Regions from separate parts of the Homo sapiens genome. Here region 1 is linked to region 2. Evidence: promoter capture Hi-C in human tissues and cell types (Jung and others, 2019). All regions are on one chromosome and are shown on one strand. Each heading gives the region's core, a stretch centred on a gene start or on the middle of the fragment in contact. The rest is flanking DNA. Distances are from core to core; before and after follow the strand shown.

The links. Contacts are between HindIII fragments. The study calls those that stand out against the background at their distance.
Region 1: a fragment that was not itself captured here is called in contact with the fragment with the promoter of ABCA5 in region 2 in 1 of the 25 tissues and cell types used here (dorsolateral prefrontal cortex).

What each region holds. Positions count from the first base shown.
Region 1 is chr17:69,529,962-69,536,804 of GRCh38, reverse strand. It overlaps MAP2K6 (mitogen-activated protein kinase kinase 6), which reads right to left. Exons shown (of 12, transcript NM_002758.4): 11 at 645-690. Among named protein-coding and RNA genes, the nearest start is that of MAP2K6-AS1, 48 kb to the right of the region's middle. The HindIII fragment of the contact is 4,717 bases long and covers 1-4,640 here.
Region 2 is chr17:69,321,150-69,328,576 of GRCh38, reverse strand. ABCA5 (ATP binding cassette subfamily A member 5) reads left to right here and starts at 1,444. Exons shown (of 39, transcript NM_172232.4): 1 at 1,444-1,525. RefSeq lists an enhancer at 938-1,077 and silencers at 1,158-1,537, 1,668-1,757. The HindIII fragment of the contact is 9,468 bases long and covers 1-3,539 here.

The DNA of each region.
Region 1 (6,843 bases), core at 1,033-3,532, 210 kb before region 2:
TGCCCGGCCTATAGTTACCACAATTTAAGAAACGTTATTTTAATACAACAAACAATGCTAAGATATTACTTTCTTCACTCTTGCTTTTTATAGACACAGCAAGTGATAAACTGTGAATGCTGAGGGAGTATAATTTAAACTAATCATGCTTTGTCTTACTTTTTTCCACCAAAGTGAAAACAAAAAGCAAAATTTTTTTTCCTCCTTAGCTACCCCCCAAAAAGTTGTTCATCTAATTTAGCCCAGATATTTGATCAAAAATTGATCAGTCAAAGAGCATTTAAGTTTTCCTCAGTATTGAAATCTCTTAAATCATACTTTCCTTAATTTTATCTTAGTAATATGAGGCTTCTCATATCTTTTAAATTCAAAAATATAAATTGTATACACATAATTTGCTCTGTATCATGACAGGTTTATTAGCCTGGAAAAAAACTACTAAGAATAGTGACAGGTCCCAACCTATGTTTAAGAAGGATGTAGGATGAACTCTTTAACTCTCTTTCCTGGAGTTCAATTCCTGTCACTGATGTATCAATGAACCAACTCTTCCAATATGGTGATGTGATGATAATTTAGGTCTTAGTGACTTTGCCTTTTGTAGCTATCAGTATAGTCATGTTTACGTTGCTAACAATACTCACCATTAGCTCTGGGTATGTAGGCCGTTCTTTGGAATTCTTCTTTAAGCTTAAAGAAAAAAAAATAATCATTAAAATCTAGAAGCCATATATATTTTCATTAGACAAGGATTTCAGAACCTGTAGAACACTAAACATAATCAGCTTTAAAAGTGTATTGAAAACACAGCCTCCTATCTTGACTTTCCTCTTCTGTAACACTTATGTATCATGTTTTAAATCACCCTGGTTGTGCCTTAATGGGAAAAATAGTTGTGTGTGTGTGTGTGTGTGTGTGTGTGTGTACTTTCCTTTTGATACTTTACCGATGATATGCACACTAATTTTTCTGATCTATAGCCATTTTATTTCAAAAAATCTACTTTCCTTCAAAGCAGCTTTAATGCCATTTCCACAGACAAAGAAATTGGCAAGTGTTTCTTACATTGCCATTTGTTATCTCTTCACTGTCAGGTACCTGGTTCTTTTTGCTTCTGTTTCCCATGAATGTATAATTTGCTTTTATATAGTCCTAACCAAATCTGCCTGAGATAGAAGCAATAAACCCCTAATATTTATTTTCTTTTCCTTGAGACAGGGGCTGGCTCTGTTGCCCAGGCTGGAGTGCAGGGGCATACAATCTCGGCTCACTGCAGCCTCCACCTCCCTAGGCTCAGGTGATCTTCCTGCCTCAGCCTCCTGAGTAGTTGGGATTACAGGCACGTGCCACCATGCCTGGCTAATTTTTGTATCTTGTAGAGGCAGGGTTTCACCATGTTGCCCAGGCTGGTCTCGAAGTCTTAGGCTCAAGTGATCCACCTGCCTCAGCCTTCCAAAGAGCTGGGAGTACAGGTGTGAGCCACTGTGCCCAACCCCCCATAACATTTCTAAGGTAATACTACTTGTTTATGACAAAGGTAATAAGACCTGTTTATGACAGCTGATAAAAGAGAGAGCGCACTCAGTGACAGCAATTATTCTTGTTAGAAATACTTTATGGTCATGCGCTATTGTCAGGTGACTTCTGGTTATTCTGCTCTCCATTGACACAGACATTTAATAACATTTGATACCGGAGGCAATAAATGCTGTTACTTATTATTTAACAGTAATAAAACTGTAAGATGAAGAGACCAACCCATCACCCCATTCTCAGCCCATCCCTATCCTCTATCCAACTCTGGCCTTAAAATGAAAAAAAAAAAAGAAAAAGAAAGAAAGAAAAGAAAAGAAACAATTTACTTGGAGTTGGAATCCCAGGTTACAGAATGCAGAAAAAGATGATTTTGAAAACTATGATTTGCAAGGCAACCTACAGACTCCTGTGCCCAACGGACCACAAAATCATACATGAATGGAAAGGAGCTTTGCCTGGCATTGGAATGGAAAGGAATTTTGCCTGGAGTTGGAGGAATCAAAATGTAACTGATTGTTAGGTTGCTGGGATTTGAGCTAAGGGATCATTTTGAGCAAATGAGACCTAGCATGTGTGACGTGAGCTCTGCCTCACCCTCCGAAGCTAAGCATGACGGGGTAAGGTACAGAACCATGAGAGAGCGAAGTAGTTCAGGCACTTTGAGAAACTGTGGTTTAAAACGAAATAAAATTAAAAAAAAAAAAAAGAGAGAGAGAAAGTTTTTGAACCAAAACAACTTAAAATCAGCCTACCAGTTTGTTCCAGGCAATGCTGTGGGTGGAAGCCAGGGAACCTGAGACAGGCTACAGGTAGATGTGAGGACAGAAGTTTCAACCTGGAACTGAGGGCAGACCTAGGACCTAGTGACCTCAGTGACCAGACAACCTATGAGAGAAAGTTTCATCTCAACTGAGGATAAAAATAAGAGCGCATTAGAAAGAGGAATTAACAGGCGGCAAAGTCTGATTGATATGGGAATGTGTGCTGAGTGAAATGAATGAGTCCGTGTAACTCCCACCGATGGTTTTGTAGGTACCTAGATGCTGAGAGTCTACGTGGGTGGTTCTCAGCTGGAGGTCATTTTGCTCCCCAGGGGATATATGGAAAATGTCAGGAGGCATTTTTGGTTGTTACATCTGGTGGCAGGGTGTTACTGGCATCTAATAGGTAGAGGCCAGGGATGTTGCTAAGCATCCTGTAATGCACTGGGCAATCCCGCACAACAAAGAACACTCTAGCCCAAAATGTCATGAGTGCAGAGATTAAGAAACGCTGTGCTTTGTGTAATAGGTGGTCCCTCCTTGTTGCGGCTTCCTCTCCCCTTCACTTAAAAGGACCATCTCCAGCTGGTTTGTCTTTGTCTTTAAGCACATTCTCACCACGACCGTCTCCTGCCCTCAACCCCAGGAAGCAAAAGTGTTTCTTTCTAAGTTCAAGAGCTAGTTTACCTAGAAAGAAACACAGAAGAAGCAATGTGATCCCAGGAGCGTTGCTGACTTGCACACAGACCCTGGTAAAAAAAAAAAAAAAAAACAAACAGGCTAGAAGCCCTGAATTTCCCACTATTGTTCAAAGCAAATCAAAAACCAGAAATGCTTCTCTATCGCTGGAACAATGTAACACGCTAAGTAAATAACAAAAAGTGCAAGCACAACATTAAATCCACACTCAATATTCAGATGGTTGATTCTGGCTGTCTCTATTTAGACCTTAAACTCCGCATTGCATCTGGAACACTCTCACTGAGGACCCAGGCCCACTCCGTTACTAGCTTTCATTGGTCAACAACAGAACCAAGGCAATGTCAGGAAGAAAAGCTTGTTTCTCAAATGTAAAAATGTGCTGATTTTTTACCTTATATTTAGCAGAAAAGATAAAATGACTGTCTCTTTCCAACAGATAGATGAGCTTAAACATCTCCATTTTTAAAAATACTGTATTTTTTTTAAATGCTGTATTTTTTTAAAATACTGATTTTGAGTCAGGATATCTTATCTTTTCACTTCTGGAACAGCTTATAAAGATTTCTCGACCAGGTGCAGTGGCTAATGCCTGTAATCCCAACACTTTGTGAGGGTGAGACAGGTGGATCACTTGAGCTCACTTGAGGTCAGGAGTTCAAGACCAGCCTGGCCAATACGGTGAAACCCCGACTCTACTAAAAATACAAAAATTAGCTGAGCATGGTGGCAGGAGCCTGTAATCCCAGTTACTAGGGAGGCTGAGGCACAAGAATCACTTGAACCTGGGAGGCGGAGGTTGCAGTGAGCTGAGATTGCACCACTGCACTCCAGCCTGGGCAACAGGGTGAGACTGTATCAAAAAAGAAAAAAAAAATCTCCAGATTTTTGTTAACTCTGTATAAAGAAAATATGGGGAAAGTACCCTAGTTGATCCATCATAAAGTGTTAAGGATTCCTGAAACCTCCAAGACTAACTGGTCAATAGGCTATTCCTTGACTCATGGCCCCTGATTAGAAAGCTCACAATCTACCCCAAACACTACTGCAGAATATAGATGGAAAATACTTACACCGCAAAGCAAGGCTGTTTATTAAATTAATGGAACTGATATAACCCATTCTCTCCATCTTTTAAATCAAGAACACTTCAAAACATGGGCTAAGAATAGCAATACACTCAGGATAAGGTTGGGGGGAAAGCAAATTTTCCATGTTTAGTAGGAAGTACTTGAAATTCAGTATACAATAACAACTTTGGAGTTCAAAGCAACACCAATTTCTTTTTGAACTGGAATCAGACTTTTGAATTTTCAAAGAGCTTCTCATTTTCAAGCGTGCAATTAGCTAACTGCCCTAATTCCTTTTCCAAATGCCACAACACACGCTTCTGACCATAGCTGACACTAAAAAACAGCTCATGCTGTCTTGAGAATTGCTAGCTTGTAGTTTGTGCTGACCAGAGGATTTCTGCCTATTTGAATTCCCCCGATCATTTCCAAGAAGGGCTATTTGGTACATCCACAGAATAAAAACACATTGCGCGTTTCAAGGCATACATTTGTCAAAAGCTAAATAAACATCTAGTGCCTCTTTTTACTGTCCTTCCTACACAAGTAGGAGACTGTATTTGACTGTCTGTGTTTTATGCTAGTTTCCCTGAGTCAGACAATATTGATGCTTGAGTGGGCCTCCACTACCCTTCAATATGCCATCAGACTGGTCAGTTGGGCCCACAGCTTCTTAAATAGGCCTGGAGAAAAAGCCAAAGGGAAGTCCAGCTGATCTGGCACTCGGCAGTTGACTTCCAGTGACTTCCTTCTGTGAACCTATAGGAAGAGTTTATAATGAAAAGTGTAAACCGGCTAAGATTCCAATCTTTTGCGAACTCGTTTGTTAACCCTTCTGCAGGACTAGAAAGCAAGACTTCTCTATTAGACTTCTCTATGATGAATCTCAAAACAAGGCTGACATGGTCAACACAACCCAACTCAAGAACTCCTTAAAACCCCTACGATAAGAAAGAGATATATAGGAAAAAGAGGAAGAAAATCTCATTCTGTAGTCCTATCTCAAAATAAATACAGAAAAGAAGGGTTTGTAAGAAACCATTGTGGGTTTGCTTTTTTCCTTTACGTTCATATGGTTAATTCTTCCTTCTCCTTCAAGATAACATTTGTCAGATGTTACTGCAAAAGAAATGCAAAAACTGGAACTCTGGACTCTAGGTCTAACTTTGGGTGTGGTGATGATAGCCTGTTAGAGCTTTTCTACTTCACCCTACAAACTAAGTGATTTACTGTCAACTAACAAGCAGTGATCAATACTGATGGGCCAGACAAGAGTGGCTACCAAGTCAATTCCCTGGATACAGAATTATGGTACCTTGCAACATGGTGATGGCATCGTGCCAAGTTGATTCCTTGGCACGGGTATGATACCTAGGCAGGTGTATGATACCTAGTAGCTTTGTGACATCGAATGCTTAGGTAGGATACACAAGTTCACAAATACTCTGACAGTTACCTAGGCTGCGGGTATAATGGGTTCTTTTTCTGCATACCAAAGACAGATGTAGGCAATAAAAACATAGATGTATCTATCTTGAAATTTGAGATTAAATATTTCACTTTTGAAATCCGTAGTCTCCCTTCCCCACTTAGCACATAGAGCGGCCTTTCTGAGAAGTCTGGGAGGACCATAGCCTACATAATAAAAATATAAAAAACATGGAGCTCACGAAAAAAAAAAAGGTCCTTTAATGAAGTTATGTCTCAATAACACAGCTTTATTCATGAGAAAAATAAAAGAATAGCTGATAAAGGGGAGTTACGTGCACAGGGAATGTTCATGAAGAGGTAGAAGAGGTACTCTTCTGTTAACATTATCACTTTTCCATTCTTTCCACCAAGCTCCAGATCAAACCTCAAGCTTTCAGTAATCAAACAAGTAAAATCACTAGATGGCTAATGGCTGGAGGTATGTACCCATATATTAATATATGTATGAAAAATAAAATTGCTTCCGTAAAGTTCTAGGCCAGTCATAAACTCTAAAAGAAAATCAGTGCTACTTTTTGAGTATAAGATGACTTTTTCAACCCAGTTGAAAAATAATGTTCATACTTAAGGGATATCAAAGAAAATATATTGGTGGTTTGTGGCAGGGAAAAAAAGTTATTGACCTGGGATCTGAAATAGGAGAGCTTGCATGCTGAAAAAGTCAAACTGAGGATAAGTAAGAATGCTCATAAAATTCAGAATTAACGATTCCCTTCTATTTCTTAATTCCCATACCAACAAAATGACTATTTTAGACAACTGATATTCTTAAGTATAGCATTCTACCAGAACTATAATACTGACACTTTGAGGAAGGAAAATTTATCTTTTAATGACTTCTAGGGTAAAGTGATTTGGGTTTTGTTTCTAGATAGTTTCATATTTTATTTTATTTTATATTGCATTTTGTTATTTATTTAATTTTATCTTATTTTGGCAGGATCTTGCTCTGTCACCCAGGCTGGAGTGCAGTGGGACAATTATGGCTCACTGCAGCCTCAGCCTTCCAAGCTCAAGCGATCCTCCCACCTTGGCCTTCCAAGTAGCTGGGTCCCCAGGTGCACACCACCACACCCAGCTAATTTGTGTATTTTTTGTAGAGACAGAGTATTGTTTTTAATATACCCAGATATAAGACAAACTGACTTACTTGAGTAGAAATGACATGACACCGAGCAAACAGTATTAATAGAATTAACAGTTTCAGGAAAGCTGAGACATGTCTACGGCTCAAAATTTTTTAATTAATGAACTGTGGTAGCTGGGATTAAAATTAAAAGAAAATG
Region 2 (7,427 bases), core at 195-2,694:
GATTGTGATAGGAGCGAGAACCCTATTGTGAACTGCGCATGTGAGGGATTTAGGTTGCGTGCTCCTTATGAGAATCTAATGCCTGATGATCTGTCACTGTCTCCCATCACCCCCAGATGAGACTGTCTAGTTGCAAGAAAACAAGCTCATGGCTCCCACTGATTCTACATTATGGTGAGTTGTATAATTATTTCATTACATATTACAGTGTAGTAACAGTAGAAATAAAGTGCACAGTAAATATAATGTGCTTGAATCATCCCCAAACCATCCTCCCTCCCCCAGAAAAAACTGTCTTCCATGAAACTGGTCCCTGGTGCCCAAAAGGTTGGGGACCGCTGTTTTAATCATCAAGGATTCTGACGAACCTCTTTGAATTTTCTATTTAATTCATATTCCATAAGTAAAACTTGATTCCTTGTTTGTTTGTTTTTCCCCTAAGAATTTAGAAAGCAGAGTGCATGTTGGGGAGACCTGGTTTAAATTCGAGAAGCAGATAACACAAAGACAAGTAAAAAAAAAAAACATGATGTACACAGGATTGACAGAATAAAAAAAAAGTCTTTGTGCAAGGGAATGTGACTATACAGAAATGTGGAGAGGAAAATACGTAATGTTAGTGTTAATAACTTTTGACCCCATTTAGGTCACTTTGAGTAATGAAGCTCAAAACACTAGATTATATTTTTAGCAAAGTAAGTGCAGTATCCAGTCTCTCACAGATGTCATGTGTCTCAGGCCGTTTGGAAAATTCAGCATCTGCCGCATTCCCAGTCTTTGATGAGGACACTCCGCGAACTACAAGCACCCTCAGTGGGAGGACCTCCCAGGTCGGGGTGTGAGGGCCAATGAGGAGGCTGGGGAGGGGAGGCAAGAGTTACGGAAACGGGGCCACAGCACTCCAGATGCCGCGGCGGGAGGAAGCGGGGCTGCAGAGGACTCAAAACGCGTTCAGAGAGGCCCATCCAAATGCCAGGAGACAGACGGCAAGGATGCTTAAGAGGAGACGTGACTGGGCGAGGCAGATGAGGAGAGGGCCGTGGGCCAAGGTCACCCGCTAAGAGGCGGCAGGTTTACCACTGAGACACGAGGCCGTGGTTTTTGCCCGTGCCTCCAGAAAGAGCGTGGCGAGATCCCCGCAGAACCCAGGCGTGGGAGGCCCTGGGGAAGAGCCACGAGGCCCGACTCTAGTGGCTCAGGGGCCCTGGGCAGCGGCGCGCCACCGCTCGCCCCACCCTCAGCCGCTCTCCTCTTCCGGGCGCGCTGCTTGCCTGCGTGCGCCGGGACGCGCGGGGCCGAGCGTCTGAAGCGCGCCCGTACGCGGAGCGGCGCTTTCTAGGAGCCCCGCCCTCAGGTGCGCTCTGCAGGAGGCGGGGCGCGACTTCGGCGCCGCCAGCTCTGCCTGCGCCAGGAGCGCGCGGGTGCGCGCGGCCGCGCCCTCGCACAGATCCCAGCTGGGTCACCCGCACTGAGTCAACAGACTGAGCGCGTCCAGGCCTGACAGCTCTGCGGCTCGGGCCCTGAGGTGAGGCGGGCGTCGCGGGCGGCGGCGGCGCTTGAGGCTAGCCTGGGACAGCCGTCCCTGGGGGAGTTGAGGGGACGAGGAGGGGCTGGCCAGCGAGGGACGGCGGGGAGAGAAGGGGAGTTCGGCGTCTGAGGTGTGGGGTGAAGCGGGCTCGGAAGCGGGCAGAGGCGGCGAGCTGAGGGAAACAGACCTCCCTCAGCTCCCGGGAAGCGCGGGTTGCCAGCCTCGGGGATGCGGTGGGAGCGCCCAGGATGCGGACGTGAGGGGGTCGGGGCCCTGCGGCGGGGGCTCCGCGAGGCTCCCCTGGGACCGGGTCCGGCCGTGGGACTTCGGGACACTGCCTTTGCCTGGACGCTGTCGTTCCACCCTCAGCAACCTCAGGGAAAGAAGGAAAACAAATATTGATGTAAATTTCCGTCTGAACAGCTGGGTAATGAGCGCTTGCTCTTCCCTGCGAGGTTACGCGCGGATCATTACCTTGCGTGTTAAAAGGAGTTTCAGTGAGAAGAAAATGCGCAGATCTCATGACACAGTTTGGGAGGGAAATTCCCTGATCCTAAAACACGAATAGGAGCTCCAGGCATGGAAATACTTAATTGGATCGGAAAGCTGGGCAGGCTGGAGCTATTAAGCTGAAGGAGGTTTTCCCCTGGGCTCCTCAGGCTTCGATTTACGTTTTAAATAAATAAGTCCGAAAATAATGAAGATAATAACCACGTTTACTTTCTACAAGGGCGTTCTGAAGGAATCTAAGGGAAGAGGAGTATTTGCTGGACTACAGCTTTAAGCCAGGCTCGGTATTAGCTCTTTTCATTCTGACAGCAACCCTGTAGGATTGGAGGGGGTTATTCCAGTTGGGCAGGTGTGGAGAATGGGCCTCAAAGAGGTTAAGTAACTTATTAAGGTCTCAGCTAGTAAAAGGATGGAGTTGAGATTCCAACCCGGGCTGCCAGACCCTAATTCTGGTGCTTTATTTAGTATATTTTGTGTTTGCCGGGAGAGCAATATTGTATGTGTTTTAGGGAAGACTCCATAGTAGGGAACATTATTAGGGCAGTTAGGGCTTTGTGGGTATTTGTGTTAAAATCAAACTAAAGAGGCGTTAATCTTTGCATATGTGCTGTTTGAGTATATTTCCTTTCAAACAGATTTAGTGTAGGGAAATCTTACATTCACTATAAGAGCAAATTTATTAGTACATTCCATGTGTATTGCATGTCTTTTATTTTTAAAGAGACAGCGTCTCGGGCTAGAGTGCAGTGGTGCGATCAAAGTTCACTGCAGCCTTGAACGTCTGGACTCTAGGGACCCTGCTGAATAGCTGGGGCTACAGGCGTGTGTCACTGCGCCCAGGTAATTTTTTATTTGTTTTTCAGAGACGAAGTCTTGCTATATTGCCCAGGCTGGTTTGTTGCATGTCTTTTACATTCCAGATACCATACTATGTGCCAAGAGTACCGATATGAATACAATTTATAATCTCTGTCCTTGAGTTTAGTTGAGAGGGTGATTGCATAAAAGAATTTTATGATATTGTACTAAGTCATAACTTTTCTAGTATGTAAATTAGTTGGATTAAAAATAGTTTTAAGGGCAAGCTTTTAAGGACCTATTATGCATAAGAAAATTTATTGGATGACTTGTCCTCTGTGTACCATTGCATTGTTATTTTCTCCCTCAGCAAGAAACACTGTGATAAAATTTAGGTTAAATTATATTGACAACTAGCATTTTTTTTTTTTTGAGACAGGGTCTCATTCTGTCACCCAGGATGAAGTGCAGTGGCAGGATCTTGGCTCACTGCAGCCTTGACTTCGCAGGCTCAAGTGATCCTCCCACCTCAGCCTCCCAAGTAGCTGGGACCACAGTTGTGTGCCCCTACGCCTGGCTATTTTTTTTTTTTTTTTTTTGGTAGAGACAGTGTCTCTCTATGTTGCCCAGGTTGATCTTGAACTCTTGGGCTCAAGCCTTCCTCCCACTGGGATTGCCACGTGAGCCACTGCACCTGACTGCATTTTGTTTTATTATTGCACCACCTTACAGTAAATTTTAAAGCAATAAAGAAGATGAGAGCATTTATAATTTATCCCTTTTTAAGCTAAAAGGCATATTTTGTAGTGCTTTTATTTCATTGATTGAGAAGCAAATGATGTAGCTAGGCAGGAGTTTGTTTCATGTGCCAGATATGTTCCTAATTTCTCATTCCAAAAATATCTTAGTTTAAAAGTGTAGCTAATACCAGATTGCATTTAATTTCTTGTGTTTCAGAGTTGTAATGAAATCAGTCTTCAGTTTAGGCTGAAATGGCACATTGTTGAAATGTATAACATTACTTTGTGGTGGATTTTGGAAATCTCTTTTAATTGCTTCAGTTTTCTCAGTAAAGTAGGATTCAAGGTCATAATCTGAGGGTGATCCTACAGATGGAAGCTTTGGAGATTTGGGGATTGGGAAAGTGATGGACTAGTGGAATATGTGATTGCTAGGAAATTAAACATGACTCACAGTTGTGAAAAGTACAGTAGAGGAAAGATATGAGTGCACAAATTAGGGTGTCTAATTTTGGATACCAGAAACTTCATAATCCATTCCCAATGCCTGCCTTTACCGTGTTATCTAGAACATACATCTGCACCCCTTGCTCCGGTTCACTTTGCCTTATGCCTCTGCCATATGGCAGGTATCCCTGTTCTTCACAAAAGTCAAGCCCTTTTGTTTGGGAGTCTAGCTTTACCATTCTTTTCTTTCTGCCTGGAAATTCCATTCCACTCCTTTCCAGGCTCTTTCTCTCTTATCACATTATATTAAATTTTATCTCTCTGCAAAGTTAGTGACAGTGTCTAACTTTATTTTTTTTGCCTCATAATGTTGGATGCATAAATCCTTCAGTAAATGTTAAGTGAATATGCCACTTTTCTCACTTCCCCTCTTCTTCCTTTTTACAGGAGTTGACCAACGTTTTTTGTAAAGTGCCAGATAGTAAATATTTTAGGTTTGCAGACAGTATGGTCTCTGTCTCAATAACTTTACTGTTGTAGCACAAAAGCAGTCATAGATAATACATAAATGAATGAGCATGGCTGTGTTCCAATAACACTGTATTTATAGACACTGAAATTTGAATTTCATATAATTTTTGCATGTCACAAGATATTATTATTATTTTTCAACCTTTTAAAAATGCAGAAGCAGTGTTCCTCATGGGCTGTGCCAAACAGACTGAGGGTTGGATTTAGCCCCCACCTCTTTCATCATAGTTTGCACATCCTTGATCTTTAAGGACTCTCAGGAAGCCTTGATAAAGGAATCTGTGGTAAGATGATACTGGGTTTAATATTTCCATTGGTGGTGGAGAAACAAAGATAAATAAGACTGTTGTTTTTTTCATCAAGGATCTCATGGTCAAGTTCAAGATGAAAATATATAAATAAATAATGGTGACAGGGTATAGTTACTGCAGTTACAGTTATGTTTACTGGGTATAGAGGTAAAACAAAGGAGTGATAATCAGCTCCATGTCAATGTTAATAATGACATTTAGGCAATATGATTAAAAATTGAGTTTATTTGAGCATAAAACTTGAGGATGGTCACACAGGAGGACACAGACTCCTGAAGGATGAGGTAAATGCTCCAAAGTGGAGAGGTTTGAGGGTCCTTTACATAGGCAAGGCCTGGGGATGCTTAACAGGGTTACATCATTTTTCGTACGAGGTTAGTGCATAGTTAGAGCAATTCAATTAGTTATAGGCAGTGTTTCTTTTTGGGGGAAGGGTATATTTAACATTTCACATTAAGGATGTAATGGTCAAAGGGTCTTTTATCACAGTCAGCGGTCTTTTATCCCTGGCATCATCTGGTGTGATCTAGGAACAAGAAAATAAGGAAGGAATTTCATGTATAACAAAAGGTCAGTAATTAAGAGGTCAAGCTTCATGACCCAGTCTCCAAAGTCAACCTTCAGTGCCGAACAACGTTTAGAAGCCCCAAGTAGACAGACTATCCATTTTCTGTTACATCTGCTTAGGTGGATGAGAAGTAACCTCTAACAGTCATTTGTTGGAGGTAGGGAATGTATTTTCAGCTAGCCTTTCTGGAAATCTTTTAAGGATGCTAAGAAGGTGACCACGTTTCTTATCAGGATGGCTCTAAACATCAGGATGACTCAACTTATTTATTTTATAGGGTATAATCTTAATTTGTTTCTCACAGAAATAAACATGGATATGTTTTTAATCAGGTCTCTATGAAAATAATTTAAAAAATTTAAAGTTATTTTACCTGCTACATAATAAATGGATTGTTTATTCCACAGGTATTTAGTACCTCCTCTGCTGTGCAGTGAGTTGTTTTACTAGCTGAAAATATTTGAAGGAGATAATGGTATCATTAGATAAGTGATGGATTTTGCGGGGGAGGTGGGGGAAGAGAGAGGCTCTTCTAAGGAAAGCACTGCTTTTAACAAAGGCAGTAGGTATAATAGTAGAACTACCTTAGATTTTAAAAAATACTTTATAGCTTTCAAATTTCTTATTTTAATTAATTAAATTCATGCATCCTAAATAATTTTTCTCTAACAATTATTTCTAAAGGTTATGTACATTTTTATTACTTTTAGTGATGTGGAATATGTTTCGTAGGACTTGGAACGTAGTAACCAGCACTTTTTTTTTTTTTTTTTTTTTTTTGAGACGGAATCTTGCTCTGTTGCCAGGCTGGATTGGCACAGTGTCAGCTGACTGCAACTTTCACCTCCCGGGTTCGAGTGATTCTCCTGCCTCAGCCTCCTGAGTAGCTGGGATTACAGGTGCCCGCCACCACACCCAGCTAATTTTTGTATTTTTAGTAGAGACAGGGTTTCACCATGTTGGCCGGGATAGTTTCTGTCTCCTGACCTCGTGATCTTCCCGCCTCAGCCTCCCAAAGTGCTGGGATTACAGGCGTGAACCACTGTGCCTGGCCGTAGTAACCAGTACTTTAAGATAAATTAAGAAGTGAATTTTTGATATTGAACTTTGGATTATGCAACTCCTGGTCTTTAAGTCAATTAATACATTAGAAAAGGAAGATGGGCTTTAGTAGGCTTTCCATTTTCTTGCAACTTATTGGATTTAGTATAAATTATTTTATCTAGTAAATTATTTATCTAGGAAAGTTAAATTTGATTAAATCTTTAGAGATGTTAGGTGTTTAAAACTCACCTAATTATTATTTAAAGCCCTACAACAAACTTAGCACATTTCTCAGGTATGCTGTGGAAGTATGGAAAATAACTTTTTTTTTTTAGATTTTGAACCCGTATTTCTCTTTGTGCCACTGTTTTTTAACAGCTAAGAATTGGCTTTGTTAAAGAGTGTTTTAAAGTATTTCATTGGTAAGATTTTGAGTTGGAACCATACAAATTCTGCTTTGGTCTTGTATTAACTCAGCTGCTAGTGAGTGAACTCCTAGATATTGCCATTTAGAGGCAATTAAACTTAAACAGTTAAACTTGAGGCAGGCCATGCATCTTTTTACTGCGTTTTTCTCTTATTCTTCCAAAAACCATCACATAAAGCTATAAAATTTTGGAATTCTAGTATAGAAAGAGGAAATGTATAGCTCCATGCTAAATACGGGGTTTCTTGTATCCCAAGAAAAGGCACCTGATAAGTCAAACCCTTCATAGATGTCCCCTTTTTGGTCATGCCTCATTTGTAACTTTGCAGCCCTGTTTTCAGATATATGCTTCTGTCAGGAACACCGCTTTCATGTCACCTCTGCTGTGTGGATCTCCACCTTTCTTTCTGGAAACCTCATTCTTTCATCCACAAGAGTTGTTCCCATCTCAAGATATTAACCCTTTAGTTTTGGGTGTTCGTCAATATAGAAAAGTACTGCCTTCCCACATTCTTCCTTCATC